Regions from separate parts of the Homo sapiens genome. Here regions 2 and 3 are each linked to region 1. Evidence: promoter capture Hi-C in human tissues and cell types (Jung and others, 2019). All regions are on one chromosome and are shown on one strand. The core of a region is centred on a gene start or on the middle of the fragment in contact, and the rest is flanking DNA. Distances in the headings are between cores, read along the strand shown.

Evidence for each region. The method cuts DNA at HindIII sites, captures the fragments that hold promoters and counts their contacts. A contact is called where the count stands out against the background at its distance.
Region 2: a contact is called between a fragment that was not itself captured here and the fragment with the promoter of THUMPD1 in region 1, in 1 of the 25 tissues and cell types used here (dorsolateral prefrontal cortex).
Region 3: a contact is called between a fragment that was not itself captured here and the fragment with the promoter of THUMPD1 in region 1, in 1 of the 25 tissues and cell types used here (dorsolateral prefrontal cortex).

What each region holds. Positions count from the first base shown.
Region 1 is chr16:20,740,162-20,743,954 of GRCh38, reverse strand. It overlaps THUMPD1 (THUMP domain 1 NAT10 acetyltransferase adaptor), which reads left to right and starts at 2,137. Exons shown (of 4, transcript NM_017736.5): 1 at 2,137-2,446. The coding sequence starts at 2,216. It also overlaps a transcript of ACSM3 not described here. RefSeq lists enhancers at 2,062-2,331, 2,342-2,391, 2,692-2,831, 2,862-2,951. The HindIII fragment of the contact is 7,218 bases long and covers 600-3,793 here.
Region 2 is chr16:19,532,612-19,536,404 of GRCh38, reverse strand. It overlaps CCP110 (centriolar coiled-coil protein 110), which reads right to left. Exons shown (of 14, transcript NM_001323572.2): 4 at 1-465. Among named protein-coding and RNA genes, the nearest start is that of CCP110, 11 kb to the right of the region's middle. The HindIII fragment of the contact is 3,569 bases long and covers 251-3,793 here.
Region 3 is chr16:19,569,591-19,573,383 of GRCh38, reverse strand. It overlaps VPS35L (VPS35 endosomal protein sorting factor like), which reads right to left. Exons shown (of 31, transcript NM_020314.7): 3 at 3,793; 4 at 143-265. Among named protein-coding and RNA genes, the nearest start is that of VPS35L, 16 kb to the right of the region's middle. The HindIII fragment of the contact is 3,565 bases long and covers 307-3,793 here.

The DNA.
Region 1 (3,793 bases), core at 888-3,387:
TTTTTCAAGTTTGCCTCCATATAGTACTCAAATATGCTTGGGACTTGAAATATATATATTTTAACTTGTTATCTGTATGCTAATATTTGATATCCTAAGGACAGGTGGCAGAGTGTGGGCAACTGAAACCCAGCCAGCAGAAGAGAGAGAGATTTGGGGGAAGGCCAATGCCAGTGTCATGACACTGCTCTTCACAAACAACTGAGGACTTCTAGAAATCTCTGCTGTGCAGTGTCCACCAAAGAAATTCTGAAAATTAAATGCTGTATTGAATACACAGGTAAAAGCAAACAATAAGATGATAAAATTTTTGGACATAGTGGTAGATCTGGGGTTAGAACCTAGGGTTTATTGACTGTGAATTCGGTGTCCCTTTCAAAATATCAGATTACATCTTTTAGGGCTTTGTAGGAACTCAAATCTGCTAAGAGGTTTGTACCTGAAGAGTAGTATGAGAAGCACTTGTTTTTTAAACACATTCTTCAAAAGTGGCATCTTCAATGATTTTTAAAAAGACAGTAACATGATAAGTTGCCAAGACTATGGATAAAAGGCCGCAACGAAAGCAGCATGAAACAACACCAGCCAACATCCTTGGTTTTAAGTGAAATAGAAACATAGCCTGGAAAATTGAGGCTGAAATGGAATTTACTGGAAGCCTTTTGAGTAACTGTTCTATGTGGGAAATGCGCGAGGGGAAAAAACAAGACAAAATACGGCCAGGCGCGGTGGCTCACGCCTGTAATCTCAGCACTTTGGGAGGCCGAGGCGGGTGGATCACGAGGTCAGGAGATTGAGACCATCCTGACTGACACGGTAAAACCCCGTCTCTACTAAAAATAAAAAATATTAGCCGGGCGTGGTGGCGGGCGCCTGTAGTCCCAGCTACTCGGGAGGGAGGCAGGAGAATGGGGTGAACCTGGGAGGCGGAGCTTGCAGTGAGCCCAGATCGCACCACTGCACTCCAGCCTGGGCGACAGAGCGAGACTCCATCTCAAAAAAAAAAAAAAAAAATAGACAAACATACAATACCTTTGGGGGTAAACAACCTTTATCCCACGTAAATGGCAATGCAGATATAATAAGCAAATGATATAGTAAGCAAATTGCAATGGGAAGGGGAGAAGGGAAAAAAAAAAAATATATATATATATATATATATTTACACGCACCAGACTATGTTGGATTCATCACCAGACCGGGAAGCAACAGCCTGGGCTCCAGAGTCAGCCACTTGTCCGTGCACAGAGGAGGAGGGGTCTCAAGAAGCTTCCGTGTGGCCTGGGACCCTGGCTCATTTTTTTTTTTTTTTTGAGACAGAGCCTCGCTTTGTTGCCAGGCTGGAGTGCAATGGCACGATCTCGGCTTACTGCAACCGCCGCTTCCCGAGTTCGAGTGATTCCCCTGCCTCAGCCTCCCGAGTAGTTGGGACTACAGGTGCGCGCCACCACGCCTGGCTAATTTTTTGCATTTTAGTAGAGATGTTGGTCAGGATGGTCTCCATCTCCTGACCTCGTGATCTGCCTGCCTTGGCCTCCCAAAGTGCTGGGATTACAGGCGTGAGCCACCGTGCCCGGCCGACCCTGGCTCTTTTTGTAATGCGTTGATTGGCATGAGGCCCAGTCACGAGGGCCCTTCTCGACTGGGCTCAAGGAACACATAAAGGTCAACTTGTTTCTGTGATTGTCTGTTTTTCAATAACTCAAGTACAGGTACAGAGTTATCTGTAACAGTGCTGGATGAATGAATGCCTCAAGGGGCTCATGCAACCTGTTACGGGACTTGACCATTGTGTCCACGTTCAATTGAGTTCAAATTTAATATTTAACTTTTCCTCCACAGTAGCTGGCAGAATTATAGGGAAGGCTGGAGGAACAGGTACCAAGGTTGGGTGGAAGAAGCTATATGGCTGGAGCCAGCTTCAAGGGCTTGAGGAGCCACCGACACCACTTCCAGAATGGCTGCTATGCTGCCTCTACTGGATTCAGGTTGCAGTCGGGAGGCGGGGCAGGAGGCGGGGCTTGGGCGGGTATCACTCCACCCCTTTCACGATTGCAGACCGGCCTTAGGACCTGGCGCAGCACGGAATGAGGCTTCGAGGCCGGCTAGGGGAGGCCGTCGCTCATATCCGACGTCACCAGTTCGCGCCGGCGATAGACGAGGACGCCAACAGCAGCGGAGAAACGTTTCTCTTTCCTCTCAGTTTGCGCACACCATGGCGGCCCCTGCCCAGCAGACTACTCAGCCTGGCGGCGGGAAGCGCAAAGGCAAGGCTCAGTATGTGCTGGCCAAGCGCGCTCGGCGCTGCGACGCTGGCGGGCCCCGTCAGCTAGAGCCCGGGCTACAGGGCATCCTCATCACCTGCAATATGAACGAGCGCAAGTGCGTGGAGGAGGCCTACAGCCTCCTCAACGAATACGGCGACGACATGTATGGGCCAGAAAAGGTACCGGTCCCGGGGTGGGCGGGCGGGCCGGCTGCCAGGCCTTGCGGGAGGAGGGAAGGGTGGAGGGATGGCTGCTGGTATGGGCATGCGCGCCTCGGGTCGTCGGCGTGACGGCTGTAGGGGCGTGGCCTCGCCGGCGTTTCCGTCCCTAGTCCTGAGACGCTCGCAGACTTCGGTGCTATCGGTTTTGTGCTTGAAGTGCTTGCACCTTTTCTTGCCATCAGTAACCACGGTAGCTCCCATTACTTTTATTTTTATTTTTGTGAGACAGGGTCTCGCTCTGTTGCCGAGGCTGGAGTGCAGTGGCGTGATGATAGCTCAGGGAAGCCTCGACTTCTCCTGTCTCAGCCTCCAGAGTAGCTGGGACTATGAGTGCGCGCCACCACTCTCGGCTAAGTTTTGTAAATTGTAGATAAGGGGTCTCACTGTTTGGCCCAGGGTAGTCCTAAACCCTACACTCAAGCGATCCTCCCGTCTCTGCCTCTCAAGGTGCTGAGATTACAGGCGCGAGCCACTGAGCCCGGCCTACCTCCCACTTAAGGATTGCTCATTGAGGGCCAGGCGGTGTGCTGAAGCTCTTTCAGAAACACATTTTTCATGACAGCCTCGTGAAGTTGGAGTAATAATGTGTTTACCTGAAGCAATAATATTTCTGAAATAATAGGTTTACTACTAATGCTAGTTACTGCACTTAAAATACATTTTAGAACGTAAAAACTTTTACCAATATCACCTAAAGTCTTAGTGTTTGGAAATCATATTACTGGCTTAGAATCTGGACCAATACACACACGCACACTGAGGGATTAAATGAAGAAGGGTAATACAGAGGGAATTTAAATTCACGGCTCATCCTCTACTAGCTTGGGGACTCGGACATGGGCACATTATTTGATGCTGCTGAGCTAGATAAAAAAGAGAATACTTTAAGACTGGCTAGTGAGTTGCTTATGTACATAAAATACATACTGGTATGTAATAAAGTTTCTGTAAATGTATACAATTATTATTGTGCCTGACTGGCAATTTCGTTGGGCACTAGGGGGCAGAGAGCTGGGCAACAAGCACATATCCTGTCTACTCCTGTACTTTAAGCAAATTCTTTTTTTGGAAGCGGTCTTGCTCTGTCACCCAAGGTGGAGGTTGGAGTACAGTGGCATGCTCTTGCTCACTGCAACTTCCACCTCCGGGGCTGAAGCAGTCCTCCTGCCTCAGTCCCCGAGTAGCAGGGACTGCAGGCATGTGCCACCATGCCCGACTAATTTTTTGTATTTTTTGTAGAGACGGGTTCTCAGGCCATGTTGTCCAGGCTGGTGTCAAATTCCTAGGCTCAAGGGATCCGCCCAC
Region 2 (3,793 bases), core at 786-3,285, 1.2 Mb after region 1:
TCTAGATTGTTCTCTTTCTATATATTCCTTTGACTTTTTCATCAGATTCTGAAGACTCATTACATAGGGATCTGGGATGACTTCTGCCAAAAGTGGTAGATCCTGTTGTTCATTTACTGAGAAGGGACCATCAGAAATAAGAGTTTCTTGTGGGGTTGCTGAAGAGGTCTTTGGAAAAGCTTCATTTTCTACATGACTAATATTGGAACTATCACATTGCTTCGGAGAATTAAATCCTTCTGAATCTCTAGCTAAGTCTATTCCATCAGTTTTACATTGGTCCTCATTATCCAATGGCAAAATCCCAGCTATCTTATCAAGCTTTGCTGCAGTAGAGTGTTCCGTATGGCTTGGAAAGCTATTTGGAAATGTAGCAGGAACATTCAAGTTTCTGACTTCTGAATTAGAGTAAACTGTTTCCATCTCCCACTGATCAAAATCACTGGCATTAGGTGCTTTTCTAACCTGAAACAGGAAATTTAAAAATTAATATTTCCTCATTGCACAAAAAGTCTCTGATTTCACTGTTTTCTAAAATAAAATTGAAATTGAAAATTCAGAATTCTGACATTTCAAAACATAAAGAAAAACTAAGATGACAGGTTTCTACGGTATCCTGTATCACAGGGGGCTCAAATTATTATTGAAAAGATGCCTACTGGTCATCCTGCCTAAGTTATTAAAAGAGTTATAAAAGAGTTATAAAAAGAAACATCTAATCTGATACAAATATGAACATATATATGTGTATACACACACACATATATTCATATATCCATGTGCAATTTAATCTTAGAATACAAGCACTTAAATTTCTTCTAGTCATATGTTATTAACATTACCAACTGTTCCTCCTAGGATAGCTATCATCCAAGGATAATAATATATGCAATAAACAGCAAGTAATGAAATGTCTTACGTAAACGATTCCCTCTCTAACAAAGACTAACTTGTCCAGGACATTGATTAAGCAAAAATGATTCAGTAATAAGACTCCTGCACCTACATGCTTACTCCAAAGTTTAACTAAACTTTGTCTCAAAAATGAATGAATGAATGAATGAATGAATGTAAAAATAGATATTTTGTATCTAAATAATCCAACTTTGCAAAAGAATAAAAAGAGAACTAGGATAGTTTCTAAAGGTAATTATACATCCGTATATTAAACTGGCAAAAATCATTGTATTATCATATGAATACAGACATCAAAAGCCTGACTACTGGCGGGGCATGGTGGCTCACGCCTGTAATCCCAGCACTTTGGGAGGCCGAGGCGGGCGGATCATGAGGTCAGGAGATCAAGATCATCCTGGCTAACACAGTGAAACTCCATCTCTACTAAAAATACAAAAAATTAGCTGGGCTTGGTGGTGGGCACCTGTAGTCCCAGCTACTCAGGAGGCTGAAGCAAGAGAATGGCATGAATCTGGGAGGCGGAGCTTGCAGTGAGCCAAGATCACGTCACTGCACTCCGGCCTGGGCGACAGAGCGCGACTCCATCTCAGAAAAAAAAAAAAAAAAAAAAAAAAGTCTGAATATTACAATATTTTTTGGTTGTTTTGAATGTGCTTGTTTTTTTCTAGACCACATGGCTCTCCTATTTTACGTTACAAATCCCAAGACAGGTAATGGTTTCCAGGTACTATGCAATACACAGTACAATAAGACATACTTAGTCACAACCTCAGAACCAAAATAAAACAAAAAAGATGCAAAAAGGTTTCCAGGTACTATGCAATCAACAGTACAAGAGTACAAGACATACTTAGTCACAGCCTCAGGACCAAAATAAAACAAAAAGGATGCATATTTATGAAATCCATGAACATGTTCACAGGTTTAAGTAAAACAGATGATTTCCTTACGTAAAATATTTCACATTTGTGATATTCGGAAGCTATGTTGTTTATACGTCACTAAAATGAGCCTTTAGTTAGACAAGTTAAATAACAACAAGAAAAAAATCTATCATAGAATCTTAGGTTTTACAGGTGAAGCAGAAATCTAATTGTATTATATAAAATTTTCCTATCTGAATAATTAATTCATTACAGTTCAACATTATACATGCTCTTTTAACAATTTTATTAGTAGTATATTTTATCTTCCCTCAATGGACCAAGAATGATATGCCATTTTCATTTCAATCACAGGAAATACGTAGTAAGTAAAAAACCTACCTCTTATTGTTAAATTAGTGCTACTCAATACATTTTTTAAACTTAATATGGACAGTAATTATAATCTGCAAAATGAAATCTACTACCCACACACTATATACTACTGTGAAAGGGAAATAATATCTCAGGACCCCAAACTCAACTATGTCACATGAGAGTCACTATGACTCTCATTAACAATTCTCTTAATACTACCTCTCAGCCTGCGTCTAGATTGTTCTCTTTCTATATATTCCTTTGACTTTTTCATCAGATTCTGAAGACTCATTACATAGGGATTTCGAGTAACTGAAATGGAAAATCACATGTCAAAGGAAAAAGTAAAGCTTAGGAACTGAGTCACACAAAAACTGCCTTCCTTTTATTCCTAAACAGATAGCTGCAAAATAGAAGGCCACCTATCTACCCAGGTAGACTCTCTTGCAAATTGCTCACAAGGAAATTCCTCGTAGGCCCCAAAATCTTTACACCAACCCAGAGTTCTGCTGAATTTCACTCTGACAAGATACGGACAAAGACCAAAGATGACTAGAAATCATCCCTTTGGAGACAAATGTATATTTGACTTCTTCCTCTACTCTGCTTACTTTATCCTATGTAAAATGCAGATTTATTGAGCTTGAGATGAATGCATAACTGACTGTTCCTCTACCCCCACCTTTCTCATGCGACTTGTGGATTCAGTGAGTGCTAATCAAAGCCTCACAAAAATGTGATCGCTTATCTCATTACCTACCCTCCTTTTTTTTTCTTTCCTCTTTCCCCTCCTGCTGTTCTCTCCCCTTTATACACTGAAGTCCTCAAAACCTCTTCTGGAAAAGCATAAGCCACAGATTCTACTGTAACTTTTGTCTCTTTTTCCTTGGCACATCCTCAACCTTGGCAAAACAAACCTCTAAATCGATTGAGACTTGCCTCAGTCATTTTCTTCAGTTTACACTACCAACAGAGAAATGAACCCTTAAGGTTCATTATACACGTGTCATCGATACGAATTAAACAGACAAACCACAAACTCCTAAGATTATGAAAAAACAAAAAGATGTTACCAGCAGAACACTGCTATATGTTGTAGAAATTATTCGTTCAATCTAATTCATTTGTTTTTCTTTTTAGTACAAAATGATCCACATGTCAGAACAAATTGTTTATACAAATCTAAAAATAACTGCACAAGGTGTAGATGTGTTGTTTAAATAGTTTTTAGACATAGGATGCATCTAAACAATTCAATGTTATCTAAACTGCATTTTGTGTATCTAAGAGTTTTCACCAAAAAAAAATTGGAGGCAGTTATTTACTTAAGCAAAGAATGAGAATAAGGTCATTTAGTCAATAGTCTAATTAGTTTGGGGTAAACAATAATACCCAATTCTGTCATTTTGTCACTGAGAATTCAATGTTTTTAGAGTCATAAGATGCAAACAATAAGCAATTATATTCAGTGTATGGTTCTATTGTGTAAATATCCTCTGATTCAAGTACTGGGCATTACTAACAAGCAAGTACATTCTCTTTGGAGTAACTGAAATGGAAAATCACAAATTATGAAGCTTCTCAAACGTAACAGTAAAGTACATTAGTAATTAGTTAAGTGCAAATATATTTCA
Region 3 (3,793 bases), core at 840-3,339, 1.2 Mb after region 1:
GCCTTATATGTGAGCTTTTAAGAGAAGTAGAAAAATAAATAAATAAGTGAAACTTACAGAGCCCAGGAGTTGAAGCAACATAACAAAAAGAAATTACTACTAACTCCAAAGTAGACTCTGGAGAGGGTCTCCTGGTACTCACAATAGACAGCTTTTCGGTAGTGGTGTACCGGGCAAGGATTTCTCCCCGTTTGTTGGTCCAAGGCTCAAAATCCGATCCTACAACGGAGTTATCATCTCTATCACGTTTCCTTCTGGAGCTGTCCTAAAGAAAGGCAAGATAATCTCTTCAGCAGCAATATCATTTTGATCTTTAAATATATACATATATAAATAGAAGCCAGATAGTCCTTTACTGTGGAATAAAAGAGATTTGTCTCAAGGTTTACTATCATAAAAAAAATTACAGCGCCAGGCATGGTGCCTCACGCCTGTAATCCCAGCACTTTGGGAGGCCAAGGTGGACGGATCACTTAAGGGCGGGGGTTTAACACCAGCCTAGCCAACATGGTAAAACCCCATCTCTACTAAAAATACAAAAATTAGCCAGGTGCATGCCTGTAGTCCCAGCTACTCAGGAGGCTGAGGCAGGACAATCGCTTGAACCTGGAAGGCAGAGGTTGCAGTAAGCCAAGATTGTACCACTGCACTCCAGTCTGAGTGACAGAGCAAGACTCCATCTCAAAAAAAAAATTCAGACCATTTCATCATAAATGGACAATAAACATATCAAAAAATGCTCAAACTCATTAAGAATTAAGGAAAGGATAGTTGGAAAAGACCACTTTTTCAACTATCAGAATGTCAAAGAGTTAAAATGCTGGCTGATGTCAGGCTGGCAAGGATGCAGGGAAACAGACCCTCTTCAACATCACTGGTGGAAATGCAGACTGGTTAACTCTTTTTGGAGGACAATTTGGTGATAGCCATCAAAACCTTAAATACACATTGCCTTATGCCAGCAAAGAGATGGAGTCTCGCTCTGTTGCCCAGGCTGGAGTGCAGTGACGTGATCTCTACTCACTGCAATCTCCGCATCCCAGGTTCAAGTGATTCTCCTGTCTCAGCCTCCCGAGTAGCTGGGATTACAGGTGCCCGCCACCACACCTGGCTAATTTTTGTATTTTTAGTAGAGATGGTGTTTCACCACGTTGGTCCGGCTGGTCTCGAATTCCTGACCTCATGATCCGCCCGCCTCAGCCTTCCAAAGTGCTGGGATTACAGGCGTGACCCACTGCGCCTGGCCAACCAGCAAAGAACTTCTAGGAAGCTATCCTGCAGAAATCCTTGCAGACATGCACCAAGATGTGTGTGTGTTCGAGACACATGCTGCACTGCTGTTTGTACCAGCAAAACCCAGAAACTATCTGGGATATCCTCCATCTGATGGATACATCAGTAGAGGAATGGTAAATTAAAATAGGTAAATCCAGTCTTTAGAATACCATACGGCTGGTCAAAATAATAAGGTTGTTCTAAATGTACTAACATGGATAGTTCTCCAAGACATATGGTCAAGTTAAAAAAAAAAAAAAAGTTGGCTGGGCGGCATGGCTCAAACTTGTAATCCCAGCACTTTGGGAGGCCAATGTGGGCAGATCACCTGAGGTTAGGAGTTCGAGACCAGCCTGGCCAATGTGACGAAACCTTGTCTCTACAAAAAATACAAAAATTAGCCAGGTGTGGTGGCACATGCCTGTAATCCCAGCTACTAGGTAGGCTGAGGCAGGAGAATCACTTGAACCCAGGAGACAGAGGTCACAGTGAGCCAAGATCGCGCCACTGCACTCCAGCCTGGGCAACAGAATGAGACTCCGTCTCAAAAAAATAAAATAAAATAAAATAAAATAAATTAAAAAAAAAAGTTGTGGGGTGCAGTGGCTCAGGCCTGTAATCCCAGCAACTCTGGTAGGCCAAGGCAGGAGGATTGCTTGTGCCCAGGAGTTTGAGACCAGCTTTGGCAACACAGTGAGACCCCAACTCTACCAAAAAATCCAAAATTAGCTGAGTGCGGTGGCACACACCTGAAGTCCCAGCTGCTCGAGAGGCTGAGGCAGGGGGATTGTTCGAGCCCAGGACTTTAAGGCTGCAGCGAGCTATGATCATGCCACTGCAGTCCAGCCTAGGCAAAAGAGCAAGACTATCTCCAAAAAAACAAGTCACAAAACAGCAGTTCCATTTATGTAACAATGGTAAATAATATATGAAACACAGGCCGGGCACAGTGGCTTACGCCTGTAATTGCAGCACTTTGGGAGGCCGAGGTGGGTGGATCACGAGGTCAGGCGTTCGAGACCAGCCTGGCCAATATAGTGAAACCCCGTCTCTACTAAAATACAAAAATTAGCTGGGCATGGTGGCACGTGCCTGTAGTCCCAGCCACTCGGAAGGCTGAGGCAGGAGAATCGCTTGAACCTGGGAGGTGGAGGCTGCGAGTCGAGATCACCCCACTTCACACCGGCCCGGGTGACAGTGTGAGACTTCATCTCAAAAATATATATATATATATATATATATATATATATATATATATATATATATATATATATGAAACACAGCATAGGATGATGATCGAGAGCATGTATTCTGAAGTCAGACTGGCCAGGTTTGAATCCCAGCTTGGATGTGACTTGTTATCTCTATCCCTCCATGGCTGCCTCTTTAATGAGGATTCCAATACCTCTCACAAGGTAGTAAGAGAACCAAATACAAAACGCACTCCGGAAAAATGCCTGCCATGCAGTAAGTTGATGCTGTAATTATTTATATATGAGTACGTATGGGAATGCTCAGAAACTGCTATCGCAAGTATCTATGAAAATACAGGGGAAAAGCTATGGAAGAAGACACATTACAGCCATCATTCTCACAACCGCCAGGGTGGAGATTGGAATGAGGATTGCTCTACATGACTTTATCTGTAGTGTCTGACTTTTTCACATCAAAATGAGTGATTTACTTATGTATTATGTAAAAAGATTTATAAGAAGAATAAAATTAAAATTAAAAATAAATTTTAAGAGCCAGGTGCAGTGGCTCACGCCTGTAATCCCAGTGCTTTGGGAGGTTGAGGCAGGTGGATCACTTGAGGTCAAGAGTTCAAGACCAGCCTGGTCAACATGATGAAAGCCCATCTCTACCAAAAAACACAAAAATTAGCTGGGCATGGTGGTGCATGCCTGTCCCAGCAATTTGGCAGGCTGAGGTGAGAGAATTGCTTGAACCCGGAGTCGGAGGCTGCAGTGAGATTGCACCACTGCACTCCAGTTTGGGTGACACAGCAAGGCTGTCTGAAAAAAATATTAAATTAAAAAATAAAAATAAATTTTAAAATGCTTTCAAACAAAAAAACAAAAAGACTTCACAGAGCTACACCAGCCTCTCATGTCAGGATGACCTGACCAGAAGGTACCGTGTGCATTACTTGTGCAACTTAAAAAAGGGGAAGAAGCTTTAGGAGGCTCAGGTGGGAGGATCGCTTGAGGCTTGGAGTACAAGACCACCCTGGGCAACACAGCAAGACCCCACCTCTACAACAAAATAAAAAATTAACCCGGCACAGTAGTGTGTACCTATAATCCCAGCTATTCAGGAGGGTGAGGTGGGAGAATTGCTTGAGCCCCGGAGTTGGAGGCTGCAGTGAGCCATGACCACACCACTGCACTCCAGCCTGGGTGACAGAGTGAGACTCTGTCTCTCAGGGGAAAAAAAAGGGCAGGGCACAAGAAAACCACCCATTCCTGCACCCACAAAACCAACCCCCACTGGACGACCATGGCTGGGGTGCATTACC